Linked DNA regions of Homo sapiens: all the other regions are linked to region 1. Evidence: promoter capture Hi-C in human tissues and cell types (Jung and others, 2019). All regions are on one chromosome and are shown on one strand. The core of a region is centred on a gene start or on the middle of the fragment in contact, and the rest is flanking DNA. Distances in the headings are between cores, read along the strand shown. Region 1 holds the start of OGFOD2 (2-oxoglutarate and iron dependent oxygenase domain containing 2). Region 2 holds the start of SNRNP35 (small nuclear ribonucleoprotein U11/U12 subunit 35). Region 3 overlaps SBNO1 (strawberry notch homolog 1). Region 4 overlaps SBNO1 (strawberry notch homolog 1). Region 5 overlaps MTRFR (mitochondrial translation release factor in rescue).

Region 1 (2,558 bases), core at 26-2,525:
ATCTGGGTCAACTGCAAGTTCCAGACTGTTAGCTGAAAGGGACTTCTAGAAGGGGACCCATCCTGTTTCAGGCTGCCCCAACCTGAGCCTAGCTGGGATGAGAACCCCTAGATGTACCTCAACCATCTGGGCCCACACAGGGACAGGAGACAGTCATGGCCAAGTCCTGTGTTCCAGAGGTTGCTGAGGACTCTCCTGGGAAGCTTCCCACCACTGACTCCAGGGGAAGGAGGAGGAGGGAGTGGGGCAGCAGCCCTGGCAGCAGCCTGCGGGGTATATGGTAAGGTGTGAGGAGCCCAGGGGCCTGGAAGCTGTGGCTGGGATCACATCTGCTCCTGCTGTAAAAGCTTGGGCAAGGGATCCCTCTTTAAGCCTCAGCTTCTCAATCCAAAATGAGAGTGGTGCTTGTGCTTATCTCACAGAGCTGTTAAGAACGGCATGACTAGGCAACTTAGCAACTTAGCATTTCCCCTTCTCTCTCCTGGTGCCAAGACTCAGGTGTGGAGGGATGAGTGGGGGGCAGGAAGGAGGAAAGTGAGGGCCTAAGTGACCCTTCAGGGATCAGGGACTGAGGCTAGGCTCAAGCTGTGTCCTCAAGCTGCGGACACAAATCTAACGAGGAGGAGCTGTGCAGGGGCAGGGGACTGGTACCTCTGCTAACAGCTGCTGGAAGTCCTTGGCGCTAACACAGCCTCGGCTGCGCAGGATCTGGGAGCAGAAAGAACACTGAGCATGACTGTATGACCTGAGGAAATCCCTTCACTCTCTAAGCCTCAGTTTCCCCTGCTTAAAATGGGGAGAGGAGCCCCGACCTCAAAGGATCATGGAGAGAATGAACTGCGGAACCCTGTCAAGCTCAGGACAGGGCTCCGGGCTGGTGTTGCTGTGAGGCGGCAAGCTGAGCCCGGCCCTGTCCTAAGCACCCTACATGCTTGTTCATTCCTTCCTCACAATCTCACAGGGAGATACTATTACCCCTTTACGGTGAGAAAACCGAGGCAGAGAGAGGCCGTCATTCTTGTATTTGAAGATACGGTGCGCGGCGTGCGCAAAGCAAACGACCCTGGGGACGAACTTCCCTCCTCCACTACCCCTCTCTGCCCACTGCTCCGTAGGGACGACAGCGGCCACTCACCGGGCCGTAGTCCCGGCGCAGCTGCTGCTCGCCTCGGAAGCGCACGTGCAGCCCATAGCGCGCCACGTACAAGTTATCGGTGCAGAAGCAGGCGCAGCGGCAGAAGTGCCGCGGAGCCCCCACCGTCGCCATAGTGAAGCACCCACAGCCCTACCAGCTTCCGTAGAGAGACTTCGGGCACGCCCCCAACCGCGGGAGGCGCGGAACCAGCGGCCAAGGGGCCGCTCTAAGTTCCCAAGGGCGGAAAAGGACGAAGACGCACCTCGCCAGGAAACGGTCTGCGGAGAAAGATGCTCCTGGGCCGGGTTGGGACCGGCGGCCTCCTCGTTCCGCCTCCCAGTTTTCCCACTACGAGGCAGGGACTAATGGCTCCACTTTACAGACAGCTGAACTGGGTCGTGCCTTCACAGGACGGGGAGAGGAAGGGACTCGGAGCCCCAAGGCCTTTGACTTAAACGCCGACCCACCCCCCGCCGTCTGCCCGGAGCTCGTGGAGAACCAGCCGAGCTGAGGACAGTTTAAAGAGCTCGGAGGTCCGACTAGTTCCCGCTGGTGCTTCAATCATCCAGCCCTGTACGTTTCAGTTTGGATTTAGCATCTACCCCGGGTCCCTGCCTGGCGCTTCCGGTCCCTCCGCCACAGTCTGTTGGATTACCTCAGATTGCCCCAGTGAGTGTCTCCACCAAAACGCTCCGTCTCGCATTACTTCCGGTGGCGTTCCCAATGGACGCGGGAGGGCGGGGTCAGGTGTGGGAGGGCGACGGGGCGTGGTCTCACCGCAGCCAACAAATGACAACTCTTGCAGACCGAGCCTCTTCTCTCCCCGGACCTTTGCTCAGGAATCTACCAGCATTAAACCTTTGAGCTAGGTACTATTATATCACCGTCTTACAGATGAGGAAACTGAGACCCAGAGAGGCACAGGGACCCGCCGCAGGTCACACATCCAGTAAGGGGCAAATATGGCGTTTGAACCCTACAGAGTTCCCCAGTTAACCACCACAGGGCTTCTGGGAGTGGTGGAAGTATGTGGGATTTGGGGTTTTCTCGTGCAGAGCTGCCCGGCCCGAGAAGGTGTTTAACGTTTTACAGTCGTCTTGATTGCCCAGTGATAGTGAGAGGCCCTGCTATCTAGGAAAGGATCCATTTCCCCAGATCAATGTTCATTACCCGCCTAACTGCCCTTTTTCCCCAGGAGGCCCAGGGCAGGTCGGCTCCCCAGCCACCCACCAGGCAGGCCTGGCACATGCAGCACCCCACCCCACCCTCACCCCCTCTCCGTTTGCAGCAGTTTGCAAGATGAGTGTGTTGTACCTATCAGTTTATTTATTTGTTTATTTACTTTTTGAGATAGAGTTTCACCCAGGCTGGAGTGCAGTGGCGCGATCTCCGCTCACTGCAACCTCTGCCTCCCGGATTCAAG
Region 2 (2,558 bases), core at 31-2,530, 480 kb before region 1:
GCACTTTGGGAGGCCAAGGCGGGTGGATTATTTGAGGTCAGTAAATTTTGAGCTTCAGGATTCTTATTGTGAAATGTAGCTAAATGTCACTTCACTAGGTTTTTGTGAAGATTAGATCATATGGTGTCTATAAAAATGCATTACAATTATAAATTATTATACAAATTTAGAAAATTTTTGGCCAGGCACGCGCTGGCTCACGCCTGTAATACCAGCACTTTGAGAGGCCGAGGCTGGAGGATCGCTTGAGCCCAGAAATTCGAGACCAGCCTGGGCAACAAAGTGAGACCCCGTTTCAATCAATCAATCAATAATCAATTCTCCGGGCGTGGGGTCGCGCCTGTGGTCCCAGATACTTGAGAGGCTGAGGCGGGAGGACTGCTTGACCCGAAATGTCGACGCTGCAGTGAGCCGAGATCGCGCCACCGCTCTCCAGCCTGGGCGACTCCCTGTCTCTGGGGAAAAACAAAAAAATAAATGAAGCCTCTCCTTCCTGGGTCTTCGGGGTAAGACTCTGCCCCTCCTGGCCGGGCACGGTGGCTGACGGCTGTAATCCCAGCACTTTGGGAGGCCGAGGCGGGTGGATCACGAGGACAGGAGATCGAGACCATCCTGGCTAACATGGTGAAACCCCGTCTCCAGTAAAATACAAAAAATTAGCAGGGCGTGGTGGCGGGCGCCTGTAGTCTCAGCTACTCGGGAAGCTGAGGCAGTGGAATCGCTTGAACCCAGGAGGCGGAGGTTGCAGTGAACCGAGATCGCACCACTGCACTCCAGCCCGGGCGACAGAGCAAGACTGTCTCAAAAAGGAAAAAAAAAAAAAAAAGACTTTGCCCCTCCTGTGAAAAGCAAAACTGAAGGCGGAACCCACAGAGCCCTCCAGGGCATGCGCAGTGGGCCTCGGAGGCAAACACCTAAGTTTCTGTGGAAAAGCCTATCCTTCCCATCCAGCCTGCAGCCTGGCCGCCAACCCTCGAGGCCGCTCCCCCGCCCCTCTCCTTCTCTGGGGGCCGCAGGGAGTAAGGCGCCATCCTTCCAATCCAGCTCTCGTCCCCACTCCCCGCAACGCAACCCAGAATGTCGTCCCCTTTGCCAGGTTTCAACATGGCGCCCCACACAAGCGCGGGCACAGCGTCTGGGCCGCACTCCCTCTTCCTTCTCTCCGGCGTGGGGCCCGCTCCTTCCAAGCCGCTTCCACTCACCTCTGCAAAGCTTGGGCTCCCTTCCGACGGAGACAGGCGAGCAGCTGCAGGCGACAGCAGATTCTCCGCGCCGGCCTCGGCCTGACCTTTACATTGGTAGCAGCAGATTCGCCGCCGACGCTCGTTTCCTGTTTGTTTTACCTTTAAAATTTTACTCCCACGCAACGAGGGTGTTATCATCTCCGAAGACAATAAGCTAAAAAAAAATTTTTTTAAGAGAAAAATTGCTAATTCAACAACTAAGTTGAAAGAAAGACTATCGAATATGCAGTTACCTGGGACATTTTACTTTATTATTTATTTATTCTTATTTATTATTTTTTCTTGAGACGGAGACTCCCTCTGTCGCCCAGGCTGGAGTGCAGTGGTGCGAACTCGGCTCACTGCAACCTCCGCCTCCCGGGTTCAAGTGATTTTCCTGCCTCAGCCTCCCGCGTAGCTGGGATTACTGGCGCCCGCCACCACGCCCGGCTATTTTTTGTATTTTTAGTAGAGACAGGGTTTTGCCATGTTGGCCAGGCTGGTCTCGAACTTCTGACCTCAAGTGATCCGCCCGCCTCGGCCTCCCAAAGTGCTGGGATTACAGGCGTGAGCCATCGCGCCCGGCCCCAATTTCTTTATAAAAAAAAAAAAAAAAAAAAAGGCCAGGTGGCATGCCTCACGCCTGTAATCCCAGCACTTCGGGAGGCCGAGGCGGGCGGATCACCTGAGGTTCGGAGTTCGAGACCAGCCTGAGCAACATGGAGAAACCCCTTCTCTACTAAAAATACAAAATTAGCTGGACATGGTGTCATGTGCCTGTAATCCCAGCCACTCAGGAGGCTGAGGCAGGAGAATCACTTGAACCCGGGAGGCAGAGGTTTCGATGAACTGAGATGGTGCCATTGCACTCCAGCCTGAACAACAAGAGTGAAAGTCCGTCTCAAAAAAAAGAAAAATCTATAGCTTAAAATTTTATGTTTGAAAATATATGGTAGCCACTGTCAGTGGAGGCCATCTGCAGTTTCAGCTACTAGGGAGGCTGAGTCGTGAGGCTTGAGGCCAGGAGTTCAAGTTCAGCCTGTCAGCCTGGGCAACAGAGCAAGACCCCTATGTTGTTGTTTGTTTGTTTGTTTTTGTTTTGTTTTGTTTGAGACAGAGTTTCACTCTTGTTGCCCATATTGGAGTGCAATGGCACGATCTCGGCTGACCGCAACCTCCGCCTCCCAGGTTCAAGCAATTCTCCTGACAGCCTTCCGAGTAGCTGGGATTACAGGCATGTGCCACCATGCCCGGCTAATTTTGTATTTTTAGTAGAGATGGGGTTTCTCCATGTTGGTCAGGCTGGTCTTGAACTCCCGATCTCAAGTGATCTGC
Region 3 (2,558 bases), core at 18-2,517, 360 kb before region 1:
GGTGGGATTACAGGTGCCCACCACCAGCCCTGGCTAATTTTTGTGTTTTTAGTAGAGACGGGGTTTTACCACATTGGCCAGGCTGGTCTCGAATACCTGACCTCAAGTGATCCCTCCAGCTCGGCCTCCCAAAGTGCTGGGAGGCCAAGGTGCCCTGTGCTGAATTGAGTTTGAAGGACTTTGGACTTAGTCTAGCACCATTGAGCCAGTAGACATGGAGGGACCTGTTAGTGATTCAGGAGAAGTTGGGGTGCAGACTGAGTAAAGGGGTAGGGAAGACAGATTCGGGATGAGTAGGAGTAGGCAAAAGAGAGAGGTTGGAAAGTTGGTTAACCTAAGGGGGAAGTAAGAAGGGGTACTAGAGACCTTGCAGAGGGGATTGAAAAACGGAGAGGGGAAAGGAAAAAAAGAGATGACTGTACATAACGATACCAAAAGAATTTTGGGACTTGGTTCTAGAATATGGAATTGGAGACAGTGCAGCAAACTGTAGCTGAGGTTTTGAATGGGAACCAGGAGAACAATAGTGCTACTGGCGGTACCCAGTTTACTTAGTGATTGTCTACCAACAGCACTTGGAAGGTGATTTTTGGAAACTAAGAATGCATATTTCTTCAAGAAATGTTTTATGTGGTTCTCACATTTCCATTTCAGTCCATTATATACCAAAAGTTTTTTATTGGCTTAGCAGTTAAGTAACATCTCAGAGAGACTGCAAACTGATAGCCCATCAACCAAACTAGTCGGGGAGGGGGGGGGGGGCGTGTGTGTGTGTGTGTGTCGGGGTGTGTGTGTGTGTGTGTTTAGACGGTGTCTTGCTGTCACCCAGGCTGGAGGGCAGTGGTGCAATCTCAGCTCACTGCAACTTCTGCCTCCCAGGTTCAAGTGATTCTTCTGCCTCAGCCTCCTGAGCAGCTGGGATTACAGGCGCCCCCCACCACCACCACCACACCCAGATAATTTTTGTTTCTTTTATTTTGTTTATTTATTTTGAGATGGAGTCTCGCTCTGTCACAGGCTGGAGTGCATTGGTGCAGTCTTGGCTCACTGCAACCTCCCCTTCCCGGGCTCAAGCAATTCTCTTCCTCAGCCTCCCAAGTAGCTGGGATTACAGGCGCCCGCCACTACGCCCTGCTAATTTTCTTTTGTATTTTTTAATAGAGATGGGGTTTCACTACCTTGGCCAGGCTGGTCTTGAACTCCTGACCTCGTGATTCACCCGCCTCGGCCTCCCAAAGTGCTGGGATTTCAGGCGTGAGCCACTGTGCCTGGCCTGTATTTTTTAGTAGAGACGGGGTTTTGCCATGTTGGCCAGGCTGGTCTTGAACTCCTGACCTCAGGTGATCCGCCCACCCCTGCTTGCCCAAGTGCTGGGATTACAGGCGTGAGCCACCATGCCTGGCTGACAAATGTATTTTGTTTGGCCTTCATGGTATTTTGAAGAATTTTGAATTTGTTTGCTGACATATACAAATCCTGATTTCCCGGTTATTTTGAAAAATGGGAGTACCTGACAACCCCAGGCCCACGTTCCCCATCTAGGAAGATTTGCCCAGCGTTGTGTAGTGAACATCTACATGGTATGTTGGGCAAACATTTCCCAGGTACCGTGGTCTCCCTCACCCGAGTTATCTCTTTGACCTAAATTTGATGTCAGTTGCTATCTCACATGCACCTGGCTTCAAGGTATTACTTGTTTGTTCCCTGGATATAGTGGTCCTTCAGTATTACCAACTTATCCTTCAGTTATTCAATTATCATCAATTTTATGATGATTTTAAAAAACTATAGGTAGGAGAATAAAGGATGGAGGGAGAAAGGAGGCTGCTTATCTTAACATAGAATACATTTTTATTTTATAAGCGAGGACAGGGTTAGACGGTGGGGGTGGAGAGGACCCAGAATTTAGGTAATTTGCCTAAATTAAAAAACAGACTACACAATTAAATAACAGCAGAATTGGGATTCAAATCTATTCATTTGGCCAGTCCTGTTTTGTCTCGAATTTCCGAAATTGAGTTTTATTTTAGCATAATTTCTGAGAACATTCCAAGTTTTTAGATTTTATCTAAAGACTCCATAGGTTAATGTTGATTGGATGGTTATGTCCCACTTCTTTTCCTTTTCACGTTTGTTATCTATTTGCAACCATATTCTGCTCTAGATTCTGAGGTAAATGAAAAAAGAGCCTGTCCTTCACTTTTAATGCTGTCTCGATCTTGCCTTAATTTGCCTTAACCTGTAGGTTTTTGTTGTCCTCTTCCCTTGGCATACTGAGTTTCACAACAGTTTCTTTATATTCTTCCCTGAACAAGTGCATGCTAATAAACAGTTGCCTAATGATTGTACTGGTAGTGAAAAGTGGCTTATTCCGGATCTTCCTTTATTCCTTTAAGATCCTGTAGAGGAAGAAAAGGGAAGCATAACCGTGGTGACCATTCACTTGGTTTGCCGAGGACAGTCTGGGTTTACTTCTGTTTTCTCAGTGTAATCCTCAATAGCTCCCCAACTCAAATGTGCCAGGGTTTGGAAAATAAATTATATGGCCATCTTATATA
Region 4 (2,558 bases), core at 24-2,523, 330 kb before region 1:
GATGGTACAGAAACATGTCTTAAAGTGTGTATTATAAAATCTTTATATTTTGTCATTTTCTTTAAACAGATAAGGAACAACAAGAAAACTGCCATCTTAGTTAAAGAAGTGAATCCTAAAAAGAAACTTTTCTTAGTTTATCGACCAAATACTGGGAAGCAGCTCAAATTAGAAATTTATGCTGATCTAAAAAAGAAATATAAGAAGGTATTTTTTCATTTGTACATTATATTATATAGGAATACTTACTTTGGGCCAGGCAATGTGGCTCACACCTGTAATCTCAGCACTTTGGGAGGCCGAGGTGGGCAGATCACCTGAGGTCAGGAGTTCGAGACCAGCCTGACCAACATGGAGAAACCCCGTCTCTACTAAAAATGCAAAATATTATCCCAGGATGGTGATGCATACCTGTAATTCCAGCCACTTGGGAGGCCGAGGTAGGAGAATCACTTGAACCCGGGAGGCGGAGGTTGCAGTGAGCCAAGATCACGCTATTGCTCTCCAGCCCGGGCAACAAGCGCGAAACTTCGTCTCAAAAAAAAGAATACTTACTTTAGCTGGGCACAGTGGCTCACGCCTGTAATCTTAGTACTTTGGGAGGCCAAGGCGGTTGGATCACCTGAGGTCAGGAGTTTGAGACCAGCCTGGCCCATATGGCGAAACCTCATCTCTACTAAAGATAGAAAAGATAGCCAGGCGTAGTGTTGCATGCCTGTAATCCCAGTTACTCAGGAGGCTGAGGCAGGAGAATCACTTTAACCTGTGAAGTGGAGGAGGCTTGCAGTAAGCCGAGATTGCACCACTGCACTCCAGCCAGGGAGACAGAGCAAGACTCCGTCTCAAAAAAAAAAAAAAAAAAAAAAGAATACTTATTTTATAATATATTGAAATTGTTTAAGATAGCTTTTCTAGGTATGAAATTATATTTTCTTTTTCTTTCTTTCTTTTTTTTTAAATGAGGTCTCACTGTGTTGCAGAGGCTGAGCTGGTCTGGAACTCATGGGCTCAAGTGATTGTCCACTTCTGCCTCCCAAAGTGCTAGAATTAACAGGTGTCAGCCACCGCACCCAGCCTGGTTTAAGGAAAGTGTCAACTTTTGTTATGCTAATATCACAGTCTTAATGTTACCAGCCTTAAGAAACTTCTAAGGTTCTGTTACCCAGGCTGGGAGTGTAGTGGCGCGATCTTGGCTCACTGTAACCTCCGCCTCCCGGGTTCAAGTGATTCTCATGCCTCAGCTTCCCAAGTAGCTGGGATTATAGGCATGTGCCACACACCTGGCTAGTTTTTTTTTGTATGTTTAGTAGAGACGGAATTTCACCATGTTAGCCAGGCTGGTCTTGAACTCCTGGCCTTAAGTGATCCACCCGCCTCAGCCTCCCAAAGTGCTGGGATTATAGGCATGAGCCACCGTGCCCAGCCTAAAATGATTATTTGAAACAGCTTATCTCTTCAGTAAAGGAAGCTTCCAGTGCTAATCACAAAAGTTAGAATGTTTAAAGCCCTTCTCACTACCTCTTAGTTTTATTGTGAGGATGCCTCTATGTTTATATTTTGCAATGATTTATAGAAAATGTTAAGCGACCACTTTTCCTAACATTTACTATTAGGTTTTATTTTATTAATATTACCTTATATTATTATTTGTAGCCATTCTGATTTGAAAACAATTATAGTTAAGTAGTTATTTGAAAAATGTATTACATAAGAGGAACCAGCATGACAGAGCTTTTCAAATGGCGTTCAGATTCAGTTAATAGCAAGGGTTAGGCTTTTTGTGTAGAGATTATTTTAAATTGGCTACCTCTAGAATTACAGACCAGACTAGGTAACCAGTTTATTTAAAGCAATACTGTTTTCAATGAAATTCTTCTCATTTTTACAGGTCGTCTCAGATGATGCCCTGATGCACTGGTTAGATCAGTATAATTCATCTGCAGATACTTGTACTCATGCTTATTGGTTAGTATTTTCGTGTTTCCTACCAAATTTTCCAAAATTTAATTGAGATTTAAATACACCTTCACTCTTTATCAGTATGTCCTCATGAATTAACTAACAGATTAAGTATTGTCAGGCGTGGTGTGTTCCATCAGGAATATTTACTGGACAGTTGTAGACTAGAAACTGTTTAGTTTATGTACCTCCTTACTCTTCACTGATGCTTTCTTATTTCCAGCCAACTGTTGTCTGGCAGCATGACCTTAACAGTTATCCTTCATATTAGAACTTGCTTTTTCACGGCTGGGTGTGGTGGCTCACGCCTGTAATCCCAGCACTTTGGGAGGCTGAGGTGGGCGGATCACCTGAGGTCAGGAGTTCAAGACCATCCTGGCCAACATGGTGAAACCCCATCTCTACTAAAAATACAAAACAATTAGCCGGTGTGATGGCAGGCACCTGTAATCCCAGCTACTTGGGAGGCTGAGGCAGGAGAATCGCTTGAACCCGGAAGGTGGAAGTTGCAGTGAGTCAAAATTGCGCCATTGCACTCCAGCCTGGGGGACAGAGCGAGACTCCATTAAAAAAAAAAAACAAAAAAAAAAACAATAAGG
Region 5 (2,558 bases), core at 44-2,543, 280 kb before region 1:
CTAGCAGATAATTAGGAATGTTAGCACAGGTCTTTGAATAAATTTTGCTTCGAAGAGAAGTTACCGTTTATTCCAAATTAAATGGGGAGGAAAGTCTTTGGAGAGGAACCTCTACTTTACCTTTTACAAGAGGTAGGAGATGCCTGTTCAAACTGTATTTTCCCATCTGACACGGAAACATTTTGGTGATATCATTAGCACAGTTGGCTGGGGAAAGAATGTGTTTGCTAAGTCAGAGGTAGGGATAAAGTGAAGTTGCATTATGGGTGTATTTTAAGTGCAGCAAACTTAAGTGTATGCTAGGAAAAAAAAATAGCAGCAGCAGTTTTTAAAAAAAAAATTTTTTTTTTTTTAGATGGAATCTCCCTCTGTTGCCTAGGCTAGAGTGCAGTGGCTTGATGTTGGTTCACTGCAATCTCTGCCTCCCAGGTTCAAGCGATTTTCCCAGCTTAGCCTCCCGAGTAGCTGGATTACAGGAGCGTGCCACCACACCCAGCTAATTTTTGTATTTTTAGTAGAGATGGGATTTTACCATGTTGGTCAGGCTGGTCTCCAACTTCTGACCTCAGGTGACCCAGCCGCCTTGGCCTCCCAAAGTGCTGGGTTTACAGGCGTGAGCCACCACGCCCGGCCAGAAGCAGTATTATTGAGTTGGCCTGTTACCCCATGGTTAGGCCATTCTCAGTTCGTAGGTGCTTATCCTGTGGGCTTTTGGTGGGTGCTACAGGAATCTTTTTCATAAAGTACGGCTCCTAACTTCAAGCTACTTCATATGGTGCTCACTGGAAGAATTATCTGCTCTGGTGCCAGGGAAAAAATGGGCTGCACTGGATGTGTTGAGAGTCCACGTGGTGGTCTCTGACAGTGCCTCCCAAAGGGATTTTAATTCTTACTCTATACCTTAGGCCCTAAATACCTGCAATGAGAATTTGCTTTGCTGAGCAGTAGACAAAGACAAATGAGAGAGACTTGTCTTTCTTTGATGCAGGCATGAGGCGAATTCTCAGCCATGACAAGGCTGAAGGCCAGCAGGAACAGGCTCTAGCGAAATGGGTGCTGTGTCCCCTTCCTGCATGTGGCAGAAAGTTGCAAAGGTATGAGAGAGGAGACAAACGGAAACCATTCTCCCTTATCTCCAGCTCCAAATTTCCCCTCCCACTCTTACTGGTTTCTTAGGTGTTGTTCTAGAGCCTTTATTTTCTACAGGGCGTTTGGGCTGGGGAAGGGTCCTGTACACTCGCAACAGGAGGTGTAGAATGAGCCCTGCATTGAATGTGTAAGCATCCAAAGCTGTCACTGAGGTGAGAAGAGCCTTCATTGGCAGCCTCAAAGAGAAAGGTGTGCTTGGATGTATGCACTGGACATGCCACCTAGGCCTACTGGACATGCCGCCTAGGCCTGCTGGACAGACTGCACAACTGAGGCCCTGCAACTGGCAATCTCCCAATGGCTTTCTCACCTCTCAGCATTTTTCCCTATTTGTTTTCTACGTGGACTCCAGAAGAGTTCTAACAAGCCAAGCTATAAAGCATGGCTTTAAAAGAAAAACAACTGTAAGGTAAAATCCAGCTTAAGTGACGTAAATTTACAAGCAAATCAGATTCTGGAACCTCACCTTTACAAATCTTGCAAATCAACGTGCAGGGAATGTGTTTGTTTCTACATCAGAGGCACAACTGGGCATCATACAGCCTAGAAGCTAATAGAGCACATGGACAAGGAACAGAGCCTTTAGCTCTTCCAACCCTCTTATTTTCTCTCTTTTTTTTTTTTTTTTTAGACAGTCTTGCTCTGTTGCTCACGCTGGAGTGCAATGGCGCAATCTTGGCTCACTGCAACCTCGCCTCCCAGATTCAAGCAATTCTCTTGCCTCAGCCTCCCAAGTAGCTGGGATTACAAGCGTGTGCTGCCACGCCTGGCTAATTTTTGTATTTTTAGTAGAGATGGGGTTTCACCATGTTGGTCAGGCTGGTCTCAAACTCCTGACTTCCATGATCCGCCTGCCCCAGCCTCCCAAAGTGCTGGGATTACAGGCGTGAGCCACCATGCCCGGCCCTTGTTTTCTCTTACTGTCTTGAGCTGACATGGGGATAACTGACTTTTAAGTGTCACTGGGCAGCAGCTTCCCAGCAGATGGCAAGTTGCCAAGAAATGCTATTAATGTTTGACTCCATTCTCCAGTTCTCCATAAAAATTGACTTTACTAATTACAAAAAAAATTTTATTATTACAAAACATACAATCTCACAAAGGTACAATTTGAAATACGGGGACACCCTTCTAACTACCACCCAGGTGAAGAAACAGAACTTTGTCAGGCACCCCAGAACCCCTCCAAGTGCCTCATCACAATGACAACTCCTTCCCTCTAGAAGTAGCCATTATTCTTGTATAGTACTGACTGTGTTTCTTTATGGTTTTATCTTATTTTTTAGAGACAGGGTCTTGTTCTGTCACACAAGAACAAGTGGACAGGTGGAGTGCAGTGGTGTTCATAGCTCACTGCAATCTTGAGCTCCTGGGCTCAGGTGATCTTCCTGTCTTAGCCTCCCAAGGTG

What was found. Contacts are between HindIII fragments. The study calls those that stand out against the background at their distance.
Region 2: the fragment with the promoter of SNRNP35 here is called in contact with the fragment with the promoter of OGFOD2 in region 1 in 1 of the 25 tissues and cell types used here (lymphoblastoid cells).
Region 3: a contact is called between a fragment that was not itself captured here and the fragment with the promoter of OGFOD2 in region 1, in 3 of the 25 tissues and cell types used here (liver, lymphoblastoid cells and pancreas).
Region 4: a fragment that was not itself captured here is called in contact with the fragment with the promoter of OGFOD2 in region 1 in 1 of the 25 tissues and cell types used here (IMR-90 fibroblasts).
Region 5: a contact is called between a fragment that was not itself captured here and the fragment with the promoter of OGFOD2 in region 1, in 2 of the 25 tissues and cell types used here (aorta and dorsolateral prefrontal cortex).

The regions. Positions count from the first base shown.
Region 1 is chr12:122,973,961-122,976,518 of GRCh38, reverse strand. It overlaps OGFOD2 (2-oxoglutarate and iron dependent oxygenase domain containing 2), which reads right to left and starts at 1,275. Exons shown (of 7, transcript NM_001304833.2): 1 at 1,136-1,275; 2 at 652-708. The coding sequence starts at 1,267. It also overlaps a transcript of ABCB9 not described here. RefSeq lists an enhancer at 1,371-1,830. The HindIII fragment of the contact is 12,569 bases long and covers 1-2,558 here.
Region 2 is chr12:123,456,861-123,459,418 of GRCh38, reverse strand. SNRNP35 (small nuclear ribonucleoprotein U11/U12 subunit 35) reads right to left here and starts at 1,280. Exons shown (of 2, transcript NM_022717.4): 1 at 1,203-1,280. RefSeq lists enhancers at 1-726, 973-1,052, 727-1,593. The HindIII fragment of the contact is 15,518 bases long and covers 1-2,558 here.
Region 3 is chr12:123,337,117-123,339,674 of GRCh38, reverse strand. All of the region lies in intron 5 of SBNO1 (strawberry notch homolog 1), which reads left to right. Among named protein-coding and RNA genes, the nearest start is that of MIR8072, 26 kb to the left of the region's middle. The HindIII fragment of the contact is 4,997 bases long and covers 1-2,558 here.
Region 4 is chr12:123,302,231-123,304,788 of GRCh38, reverse strand. It overlaps SBNO1 (strawberry notch homolog 1), which reads left to right. Exons shown (of 32, transcript NM_001167856.3): 29 at 70-207; 30 at 1,889-1,965. Among named protein-coding and RNA genes, the nearest start is that of CDK2AP1, 32 kb to the right of the region's middle. The HindIII fragment of the contact is 7,141 bases long and covers 1-2,558 here.
Region 5 is chr12:123,257,579-123,260,136 of GRCh38, reverse strand. MTRFR (mitochondrial translation release factor in rescue) reads right to left here. Exons shown (of 3, transcript NM_152269.5): 3 at 2,177-2,558. Among named protein-coding and RNA genes, the nearest start is that of CDK2AP1, 13 kb to the left of the region's middle. The HindIII fragment of the contact is 6,691 bases long and covers 1-2,558 here.